Linked DNA regions of Homo sapiens: all the other regions are linked to region 2. The links are contacts of gene promoters, found by promoter capture Hi-C in blood cells and fetal thymus (Javierre and others, 2016). All regions are on one chromosome and are shown on one strand. Each heading gives the region's core, a stretch centred on a gene start or on the middle of the fragment in contact. The rest is flanking DNA. Distances are from core to core; before and after follow the strand shown.

Evidence for each region. The method cuts DNA at HindIII sites, captures the fragments that hold promoters and counts their contacts. A CHiCAGO score of 5 or more calls a contact.
Region 1: a contact is called between a fragment that was not itself captured here and the fragment with the promoter of SLC6A3 in region 2, in 5 of 17 cell types (M1 macrophages, non-activated CD4 T cells, total CD8 T cells and 2 more). The highest score is 6.2, in M1 macrophages.
Region 3: a fragment that was not itself captured here is called in contact with the fragment with the promoter of SLC6A3 in region 2 in 2 of 17 cell types (M1 macrophages and naive CD8 T cells); the score reaches 6.1 in M1 macrophages.

What each region holds. Positions count from the first base shown.
Region 1 is chr5:900,429-903,792 of GRCh38, forward strand. It overlaps TRIP13 (thyroid hormone receptor interactor 13), which reads left to right. Exons shown (of 13, transcript NM_004237.4): 4 at 66-121; 5 at 913-1,003. Among named protein-coding and RNA genes, the nearest start is that of TRIP13, 9.2 kb to the left of the region's middle. RefSeq lists a silencer at 2,666-2,960. The HindIII fragment of the contact is 227 bases long and covers 1,633-1,859 here.
Region 2 is chr5:1,444,011-1,447,391 of GRCh38, forward strand. SLC6A3 (solute carrier family 6 member 3) reads right to left here and starts at 1,430. Exons shown (of 15, transcript NM_001044.5): 1 at 1,338-1,430. RefSeq lists an enhancer at 2,068-2,567. The HindIII fragment of the contact is 13,596 bases long and covers 1-3,381 here.
Region 3 is chr5:927,972-931,510 of GRCh38, forward strand. No RefSeq gene overlaps it. Among named protein-coding and RNA genes, the nearest start is that of TRIP13, 37 kb to the left of the region's middle. RefSeq lists a silencer at 1,514-1,690. The HindIII fragment of the contact is 2,012 bases long and covers 1,067-3,078 here.

The sequences.
Region 1 (3,364 bases), core at 496-2,995, 540 kb before region 2:
CTGACTGGGGGTGGCTGTAATTGCTTGCCTTCCTGAAATCAGGTCTTTGTTTAATTCTGTCACAGCTGAATTCCATGGGCTTTGGGACAGCTTGGTATACGATGTGGAAGTCAAATCCCATGTAAGTTGCTGTGCCTTTTCCCAGAATGCCCTGTTATTTGAAGAGGAACCATTACTGTTTTGCTCTCCAACACCCCTGAGCAACTTGATGCAGATGGGTTTTTGGGAGCCCCTGTCTGCTGGCAGCCCTTGTCCTGGACATCTATCCTCTAGTATTGCTCCAGAGTAGAGCTGGTCTCTGAGGAGCTCCCTGAGGGAGAAGAGGGAAAGGGAGAACGTGAAGGCAACTTAGAGAATTAAACCCTCTGGAGATGGGAGGAGGGAAGGTGAGCAAGCCTGGTCCGCACAAAGGAAAGGCCGGTGTGTCTTAACCCCTGCACCCTCTTCAACGGGAAGGGTCTTTCCCATGCCAGCAGCTGGCTAGAAGACTATCACTCAGCTGTCCTCTGCATTGATAGTCTGAGACTATCACTCAGACTGCTCCTCTGCATTGTGGCTGTTGTTATTTTGCGAATAATAACTGCTGTATCATTCTAGGGAAGGAGCTTACTCATTACTTGATAAACAAACCCCTTAGTGGTTTTGTTTAATGTTGGCACTTTAAATAAAAGTGATCATTTTGTTGCTCTTCTTATATTTATAATAGTAATAGCCAGTGTTTTTCCTTTTCCCTTTTGGAAGCACCTTCTCTTCTGAAATGAAAGCGTTTGGAGGTGATGATCTCTTAGGAGGCGGCCTCGCTCCCTGTGCTCCCTCTTCTCATGTAGGATTAAGCCCTGGGGGAGGGCACATTTCTTGGGGACCTTTGCCTTGTTGGTATCTTTGTCAAGCTCTTTTCTTTTTCTCTATCAGCTCCTCGATTATGTGATGACAACTTTACTGTTTTCAGACAAGAACGTCAACAGCAACCTCATCACCTGGAACCGGGTGGTGCTGCTCCACGGTAAATTATGCAGGCTTTTATTTGACCAGATAAGTGGCATGAAATTTAGCCTTTACTTGTACCTTCGTCCTTCTGCAAGGAGTTACGGCTCTTTGTTTTCTGAAGGAGCCACAGCTGTCCTAGAATGTCCCCTCTCTGTGAAGCAGATCCAGCTCATGACACTTGGGACATTTTTTGTTTGTTTGTTTGTTTTTGTTTTTGAGACAGAGTCTCGCTGTCGACCAGGCTGGAGTGCAGTGGCCCGATCTCGGCTCACTGCAACCTCCACTTCCTGGGTTCCTCCCAGGTTCCAGCAACTCTCCTACCTCAGCCTCCCGAGTAGCTGGGATTACAGGCATGCGCCACCACACCCAGCTAAGTTTTGTATTTTTAGTAGAGACGGGGTTTCACCACGTTGACCAGGCTGGTCTCAAACTCCTGACCTCAGGTGATCCGCCCGCCTCAGCCTCCCAAAGTGCTGGGATTACAGGCTTGAGCCACCGCGCGCGGCCCCTGGGGCATTGATTACTCGGCACTTAATCAAGTCTTCCTGTGGGGGGCCACATTCCAAGACATCCTCAGATGCCCCAAACGTGGATAATACTAAACCTTATGTAGACTATTTTTTCCTACAGACATTCCTATGATAAAGCTTAACTTATAAATTAGGCTTGTAGTACTCAGAGCTTTACTTTGTGAGGAGTAAACTGAAAAAGCCATATTTTAAAGAAATTCTGTCTGGTTCTTCTCAGGAGAAAATACTGATGGTTTGTTGTTTGGTTTTGTTTTGTTTTGTTGTCAATATCACCGGGTAGAATGGGGACACGGGAATTGAGTGGACTCGAGAGTATGAAACTGTAGCCAAGTGTTAAATAGAAGCTTGAAGGGTACTTGGCTTCTTTAAGTCAGTTAAGATTGCGTGACAAAGTGACCTTAAAACACAATGTTCTTTTAAAGAGCAGACAGGCCCCGCATACTGCCCTCATAGCACAGTCAGAGTAAGCAGCAGGTGTTTTAATTAGTGAAATAAGTTGTTTCTGTTTGGAACCAGTTACGTATTTCCTCTTTAATTCTTGAAAATACCTGCAGAAAATTAGAGTTGTATGTCTCCATTTTCTGTTAGATGCTTTCCTTTTTCCATATTGGTCACCTCGCAGCTTCTGTGAGGCATCTTTTGTAGGGTCCAGCCCCACAGGGTTGGTGAGTTTTCTCCCCATGTGCAAAGACGAGAGAGTGTAGAAATAAAGACACAAGACAAAGAGATAAAAGACAGCTGGGCCTGGGGGACCACTACCACCAAGACGCGGAGACCGGTAGTGGCCCCGAATGCCAGGCTGCGCTGATATATATTGGATACAAGACAAAGGGGCAGGGTAAGGAGTGTGAGCCATCTCCACTGATAGGTAAGGTCACGTGGGTCACGTGTCCACTGGACAGGGGACCCTTCCCTGCCTGGCAGCTGAGGCAGAGAGAGAGAAGAGAAACAGAGAGACGGCTTACACCATTATTTCTGCATATCAGAGACTTTTAGTACTTTCACTAATTTGCTACTGCTAGCTAAAAGGCAGAGCCAGGTGTACAGGATGGAACATGAAGGCGGACTAGGAGCATGACCACTGAAGCACAGCATCACAGGGAGACAGGCCTCTGGATGACTGCGGGCGGGTCTGACTAATGTCAGGCCCTCCACAAGAGGTGGAGGGGTAGAGTCTTCTCTAAACTCCCCGGGGGAAAGGGAGACTCCCTTTCCCGGTCTGCTAAGTAGCAGGTGTTTTTCCTTGACACTGACGCTACCATTAGACCACGGTCAGCTTGGCAGCGGGCTTCTTCCCAGACGCTGGCATTACTGCTAGACCAAGGAGCCCTCTGGTGGCCCTGTCCAGGCATAACAGAAGGCTCGCACTCTTGTCTTCTAGTCACTTCTCACTATGTCCCCTCAGCTCCTATCTCTGTATGGCCTGGTTTTTCCTAGGTTATGATTGTAGAGCAAGGATTATTATAATATTGGAATAAAGAGTAATTGCTACAAATTAATGATTAATATTCATATATAATCATATCTAAGATCTATATCTAGTATAATTATTCTTATTTTATTTATTTTATTATACTGGAACAGCTCGTGCCCTCGGTCTCTTGCCTCGGCACCTGGGTGGCTTGCCGCCCACATCATGCTAGGGGACGCTTGGCAGGCAGGCGTGCAAGAAGAGTGCTGGCCTCTGCCTCTTCTAGTATGGGGTATGAGCCCACTGAGAATTGTCTTAGGAAAGAGGGTGGTTCTGGGGGCAACAGGAATAACACATGACCCCTCCACCTCCATTTATCAAGAAAGGTGTGTTTGATCTCTGAAAGGTGCCTTGATGAGTGGATTTCATAAAGGAA
Region 2 (3,381 bases), core at 180-2,679:
ACTCAGTAATAAAGAGCAAAATTTATATAAGCAAAATCAGCCACTGTAAAGAGAGTTTAGACATAACCATCACAACTGCTTCCTCAAAAAGTGTCTGTACAAGCCACATCCACCTAGGGCAGGTGGCACCACCCCGCGTGAGAGAGCTGGGCGGAGGATGGACAGGGCTTCATCGCGGGAACTAGCTCCTGGGCCAGCAGGGTAACCCGGGAAATCCTGTCCAAACGGCTACATAAACCCCCCTGCAACGCTGAGCAGGAGAGCAGGAGCGTCTACACCGCCCCAGCCAGGGCGACTTCTGTCATTTGGATCCAGCAGCAGCGTGTTTCAGTCGAGCGCACGCACACACAGACACACAGACACACACAGACTCACAAACACACATACACACTCACACACACACAGGCGAGCACATACACTTACACACATACACACTCACACTCACACAGGTGCGCACACACACACAACGACTGAAGCAGGTCGCAGGTGGAGGCTCTAACAGGCAACTTTCCCTGCATCCAAGTTTGCACAAAACCTCACCCATGAGCTATCACGAGCTATGCCACGCACCCGGTGACAACCTCAACCGGCACGACCCCTCCGGTGGGTAAAACACCCGACGAAGGGGTTCCGCGGCGCGAGCAGGAGGCCGCGTTGGGAGAGGGCGTCGGGTGCGGAGCTCGCGAGTCTCCGGCAAGCCGCCGCCGCCCTGGGGCCACCTGACCCCGCTCCTGAACGCGGGGCCTCAGAGGCGAGTTTTGGGTCTACACAGCAAAATGTGGCCCGTTAGAAAGCGTCCTTCCTCACCGCGCCCAGAACAAGAAGCGGCGCTGCCTGGCGAGTCCTCGCCCGGCCTCCCCGCCCTGCCCAGAGCACCAGCGCGCAGCCCGCGCCCGCCACCACCCCCAACACAGACAAAGCCCCCGCGAGATGGAGCGGCGGTGTACAAAACCCACTCCGATCGGATCTGGGATGCGCCGCACCCCTAGTAGGGTTAAGTTCCACGAGAAGAAACCAGGACCCCCGAGTCACAGCCATAGACACCCACGCGTCCCCTAAGCCGGTGACTGCACCAGGTGCCCACCCGGTTCTGAGCCTGGAGCGGGGCCAGGGGCAGCCCTGCACCCTCCTCGCGCCTCGGACGGCCTCAGGGTCCCATGTGGCGCTATCGGGGGGCGCTCGGCACCCGCGACTGTTGGCGACTTTGGAGACGGCGCGGTCTGCGGGACGCGGGGACCCCAGACTGTGCCCGGTCCCCGGCCCCCGCCCCTGCGCCCCACTTCGGGGTCTGCGGAAGGAGCGGGGCGCCCCGATGCCGCGAGCGACGCTGGCCTCACCTGGCCGCCCGGGCCTGGGCTTTGCACGCGAGTCCTGGCGCCGAGAGCGTTCCGCGAAGCCTCCCCTCCCGCTCCGCAGCGCTGGGCGGTCTCAGCCTCGGCCTCGGGCTCTTATCCAGTAGACAGGGTCCGCCCCGCCCCGCCCTCCCGCCGACGGGGTCGCCCTCGCGTCCTGGCTCCTCCTCCTCACCTCCCCGGGCCGCGCCCCCGCCCCCGCCTCCCGGACGCAGATGGCTGGGAGCAAGCGGCGGCCACGGCTCCACTGTCCTGCGCGTCCCGGAGCCTCGGACACGGGGTGCGGGGGCCTGGGGGTCCGAGACGTCGCGGATCTAGACGGGCGCCTTCCACGCGGGAACTGTCTGGGCCGCCCTGCGCCCTCGCCCGCACCCCTGGGGGCTGCCCCGGGCACCCGCTATCTTCGGACGCCCAGGGCTGGCGGCTCCCAGCTGGACGGGGAGGGAGCCGAGCGGCTGCGCGCGGGGAACTGCTGGGACCCCGTCGGGCCGACCCTTCCCTCCCTCCCCATCAGGGGCCCCTACGGTGGCCCCGCGCTCTGGGGACCACGTCCCTCCCACCCCGCCGCTCCACGCTCTGACCAGCGGGCTCGGGACCCCGCCGAGGACTCTGCACGCTTCCCGGCGTGCGGGCTGCGGAGACGCGGGTCCTTCCGTGGCCTTGGGGTCTCCGCGACCTCGAGGCGACCGAGGTCCCCTAGGCCTAGTCCCCGCCTTGCCGGCATCTAGTGCGCCTGCATCGGAACCGAGGGGCCCGCCTCGCACTCGCCTAAGAAAACCATTTCCCGGGACGGGCCTGGAAAGCCCTGGCGGTTGGTATCCGGCTCCAGGGCCGAATGGACTCCGAGGCTTTCCTTCCGAGATGCCCGGGCGGGATTTCTTCCATTCAGCGCGCGGAGGAATGGAGCCCCCAGGCCGCCAAGGCCCAGGATGTCCAGGTCCTTAGAAGGCACCGAGGTGAGTGGCCGCGCCCAGCTCTGTGCGTCGCCCCTAGGGTCGCCCGAACCCCGGCGTTCCTCCCCGTGTACCCTCGATGCTCCCGTGAGCACCCTGCCCTGGGCGTCCAGGCGAGCCCTGGGGCTCTCCAGCCATTCCAGCCTGCAGCCCGCGCTCAGCAGTGAGGGAGGCAGGGACCCTTGGTGCCTGACTCCGCAGTACCCGCCCGCAGCGCGGTGCCCCACCCCCTGCGCCCGCCCCGCACTCCCCGCACACCACCACTCCCCTCCCCGCCCCCCGCTCCCCCGCTCCCCGGCTCCGGGGCTGGCACCCAGGCAGAAGGCACTCAGGGCTGTGACTTCACGCTGAGTTGGAATCAAGTGGGAGCCTAGTGACCCCCTGGGGCTGCCATGACAAAAAACTCCACAGCCTGGGGGCTCACACAGAAGCCTTCAGTTCTAACGGTTCCGGTGTCCCGAGGCCAAGGCCTGGCCGACTCTGTGTCTGGTGAGGGCCGCTTCGGGGTTGCAGACAGTTCTCTCCCTGTATCTCCCCACGCTAGGGGCTGGGGAGAGCTCTCCGGGGTCTGTTTTATGAGGGCACTGGTCCCATTCCTCAGGGTGGAGCCCTCCTGGCCTGACCACCTGAAGGCCTCCTGACACCACCTCCCATCAGGGGTGGGACTTCATCGCCAGGGAGGTGAGGGGACTTCAGGAGAGGGGGATGTGCCACCTCGAAGCTGTAGTGTGTCAGTGGCTGCCACAGAAGGGATCTCTCTACCCCTATTATCTCCATGGCACAGGTTTCAATAAAAAGGAGTGAGCCAGGGCTTGGCCCCAGAGCAGCAGGGTTGAGGAAACAGTCTCCCAAGGAAAAGACTTTGCAGGTGACTAAGGGAGGCTGTTAAATAAAACACACAGAGAGAATGGATGTTCAGGTATATTAAAAATACACAGGCCAGGAGTGAGGGCTCACGCTTGTAATCCCAGCACTCTGGGAGGCCGAGGAAGGAGGATCTCTTGAGGCCAGGAGTTTGAGACCAGCCTGGGCCACATGGCAAAACCCTGACTTTGAAAAAAAAAATTAGCCAGGCA
Region 3 (3,539 bases), core at 823-3,322, 520 kb before region 2:
TTGATATGCTTTGGATTTGTGTCCCCACCCAACTCTAATGTCGAATTGCAATCCCCAGTGTTGGAGGTGGGGGTCGGTGGGAGGTGATTGGATCATGGGGGCTGATTTCCTCCTTTGGTGCTGTTCTGATAGAATTCTCCTGAGATCTTGTTTAAAAGTACATGACTCTCTCCCCATCTTCCTCCTGCTCTGGCCATGCGGAGACATGCCTGCTTCCCCTTCACCTTCCACCATGATTGTAAGTTTCCTGAGACCTCACCAGCCATATTTTCTCTACAACCTGTGGAAACATGAGCCAATTAAACTGCTTTTCTTTATAAATTATCCAGTCTTGGCCGGGCGTGGTGGCCGTAGCCTGTAATCCCAGCACTTTGGGAGGCCGAGGCGGGTGGATCACCTGAGGTCAGGAGTTCGAGACCAGCCTGGCCAACATGATGAAACCCTGTCTCTACTAAAAATACAAAAAATTAGCCAGGGGTGATAGCGGACGCCTGTAATCCCAGCTACTCAGGAGGCTGAGGCAGGAGAATCACTTGAACCCAGGAGGCAGAGGTTGCAGTGAGCCAAGATCGTGCTACTGTACTCCAGCCTGGGCAACAAGAGCAAAACTCCATCTCTAAATAAATAAATAAATAAACCAGTCTCAGGCAGTTCTTTATAGCAATGGGAGAATGGCTAATACAGAAAATTGGTACCTAGGAGTGGGCATTGCTGTAGTGATACCTGAAAATATGGAAGTGACTTTGGAACTGGGTAACAGGTAAAGGTTGGAAGAGTGTGGAGGGCTCAGATGAAGACAGGAAGATAAGGGAAAGTTTGGAATTTCTTAGGGATTTGTTAAATTGTTGTGACCCAAATGCTGAATAATGATATGGACAATGAAGTCCAGGCTGAGGTGATCGCAGATGGAGATGAGGAACTTATTGGAAACTAGAGAAAAAGTCACTTTTGTTATGCGTTAGCAAAGAATTTGGTGACATTTTGCCCCTGCCCTAGAGATCTATGGAACTTTGAACTTGAGAGAGATGATTTAGGGTATCTGGAAGAAGAAATTTTTAAGCAATAAAGCTTTCAAGAGGTGATCTGGCTGTTTCTAAAAGTGTACACTCATATGTGTGAAGAAAGAGATTATCTGAAACTGGAACTTGTATTTAAAAGGGAAGCAGAGCATAAAAGTTTGGGAAATTTGCAGCCCAGCCTTGTTGTAGAAAAAGAAAAACCCATTTTCTAAGGAGAAATTCAAGCCTGCTGCAGAAATTTGTATAGCATAAGTAAAGAGGAGCCAAATGTTAATAACCAAGACAATGGGAAAATGTCTTCAGGGCATGTCAGAGATCTTCACAGCAGCCCTACCCATCACAGGCTCAGAGACCTAGGAGGGAAAAATGGTTTCATGGGCCAGGCCCAGAGCCCAGCTAGCTCTGTACAGTCTCAGGACATGGTGCCCTGTGTCCCAGCTGCTCCAGCTCCAGCTGTGGCTAAAAGGGGCCAAGGTACAACTTGGGCCATGGCTTCAGAGGGTGCAAGGCCCAAGCATTGGTGACTTCCACATGGTGTGGGGCCTGCAGGTGCACAGAAGTCAAGAGTTGAGATTTGGGAACTTCTGCCTAGATTTCAGAAGATACATGGAAATGCCTGGATGTTCAGGCAGAAGTCTGGTATGGGGCAGAGCCCTCATGCAGAACCTCTACTAGGGCAGTGCAGAGGAGAAATGTGGGGTTGGAGCCCCCACACAGAGTCTTCACTGCAGCACTGCCTAGTGGAGCTGTCAGAGGAGGGCCACTGTCTTGCAGACCTCAGAATGGTAGATCCACTGACAGCTTGCACCATGCACCTGGAATAGCTGCAGGCACTCAACAACAGCCTGTGAAGACAACCATGGGAGCTGTACCCTGCAGAGCCACAGGGGCAGAACTGCCCAATGCCATGGGTGCCCACCCTTTGCATCACCATGATCTGGATGTCAGACATGGAGTCAAAGGAGATCATTTCAGAGCTTTAATATATTAATGGCTGCCCTGCTAGGTTTCAGACTTGCATTGGGCCTGTAGCCCCTCACTTTCGACCGATTTAACCCACTTGGAATGAGAGCATTTACTCAGTGCCTGTGCCTCCATTGTATCTTGGAAGTAACTAATTTGTTTTTTATTTTACAGGCTCAGGGGAAGGAGGGATTTGCCTTGTCTCAGATGAGACTTTGGACTTGGGCTTTTAAGTTAGTGCTGACTTAAGACTTTGGGGGACAGTTGGGAAGGGATGATTTATTTTACAATATGAGAAGGACATGAGATTTGGGAGAGGCCAGGGGTGAAATGATATGGTTTGGATTTGTGTCCCCACACAAACCTCATGTTGAATTGTAATCCCCAAAGCTGGAGGTGGAGCATGGTGGGAGGTGATTGGATCGTGGGAGCTGATTTCTTCCTTGGCTGATGTTCTCATAGAGGTCTCATGAGATCTGTTAAAAAGCATATGGCACCTACCCTCTCTTTCTCCTCCTCCTGCTCTGGTCAAGTGAAGATGTGCCTGCTTCCCCTTAGACTTCCACAATGATTGTAAGATTTCTCAGGTATTTAGAGCACTGCAAGAACAGACATACACAGGTATACTCCAAATACTTCCACCGTGAGCACCATCACCTCCAAATGTGTTCACCTGTGAGCACCTTCACCTCCCAGTACATTCACCTGTGAGTACATAACCTACTGGTACATTCACCTGTGAGCACCTTCACCTCCCAGTACATTCGCCTGTGAGCACATAACCTACTCGTACATTCACTGTGAGTACCTTCACCTCCCAGTACATTCACCTGTGAGTACCTTCATCTCCCAGTACATTCACCTGTGAGCACCTTCACCTTCCAGTACATTCACCTGTGACAGATTCCCCTCCCAGTACATTCATTCACCTGTGAGCACATTTAATCCCAGTACATTCACCTGTGAACACATTCACCTCCCCGTACATTCACCTGTGAGCACATTAACCTGTGAATATGATCACCTGTGTACAGACTCTCAGGCTGCACCGGAGAATTTAACTGACGCAGAAAGATCAACAGGAGGAAAGCACGGAAGCTTATTTAAAGGAAGCTCTATATGGTGGGAGAGCCTCCCATGGAAGGAATGCCCTAAAGCCACAGAGTTGGACACTCACACCCATGTGAGCAAACAGGACTTGCAAGAAGTGGATGGGTGGATCTCTAGTGGCTCACCGGCCCTAAATCCTCATAGAGCCCAGTGACCGTTTGCTGACTAGAGGTCACACGGGTACCCGGAGTTCCTTGAAATCCCATACCTCTGTTAAACTTTGGGACTTCCAGAGCTCCCCTGAACCAACCCATCAGAACACAGGAAGTTTGAATTTTTCATTTGCATAAGCGAACCTATGTGAGAACTTTCAGTATAAAAGCTGGACCCTCTCTTTGTTCTCTGGAAAGCATCCTGGTTTTACGCTGAAGGCAGCATCTCCCACTTCACAAACTGTTCATAGGAATAGTCTTTCCTCTACATTCCTTTTCAAAGAACTTTTGTGCA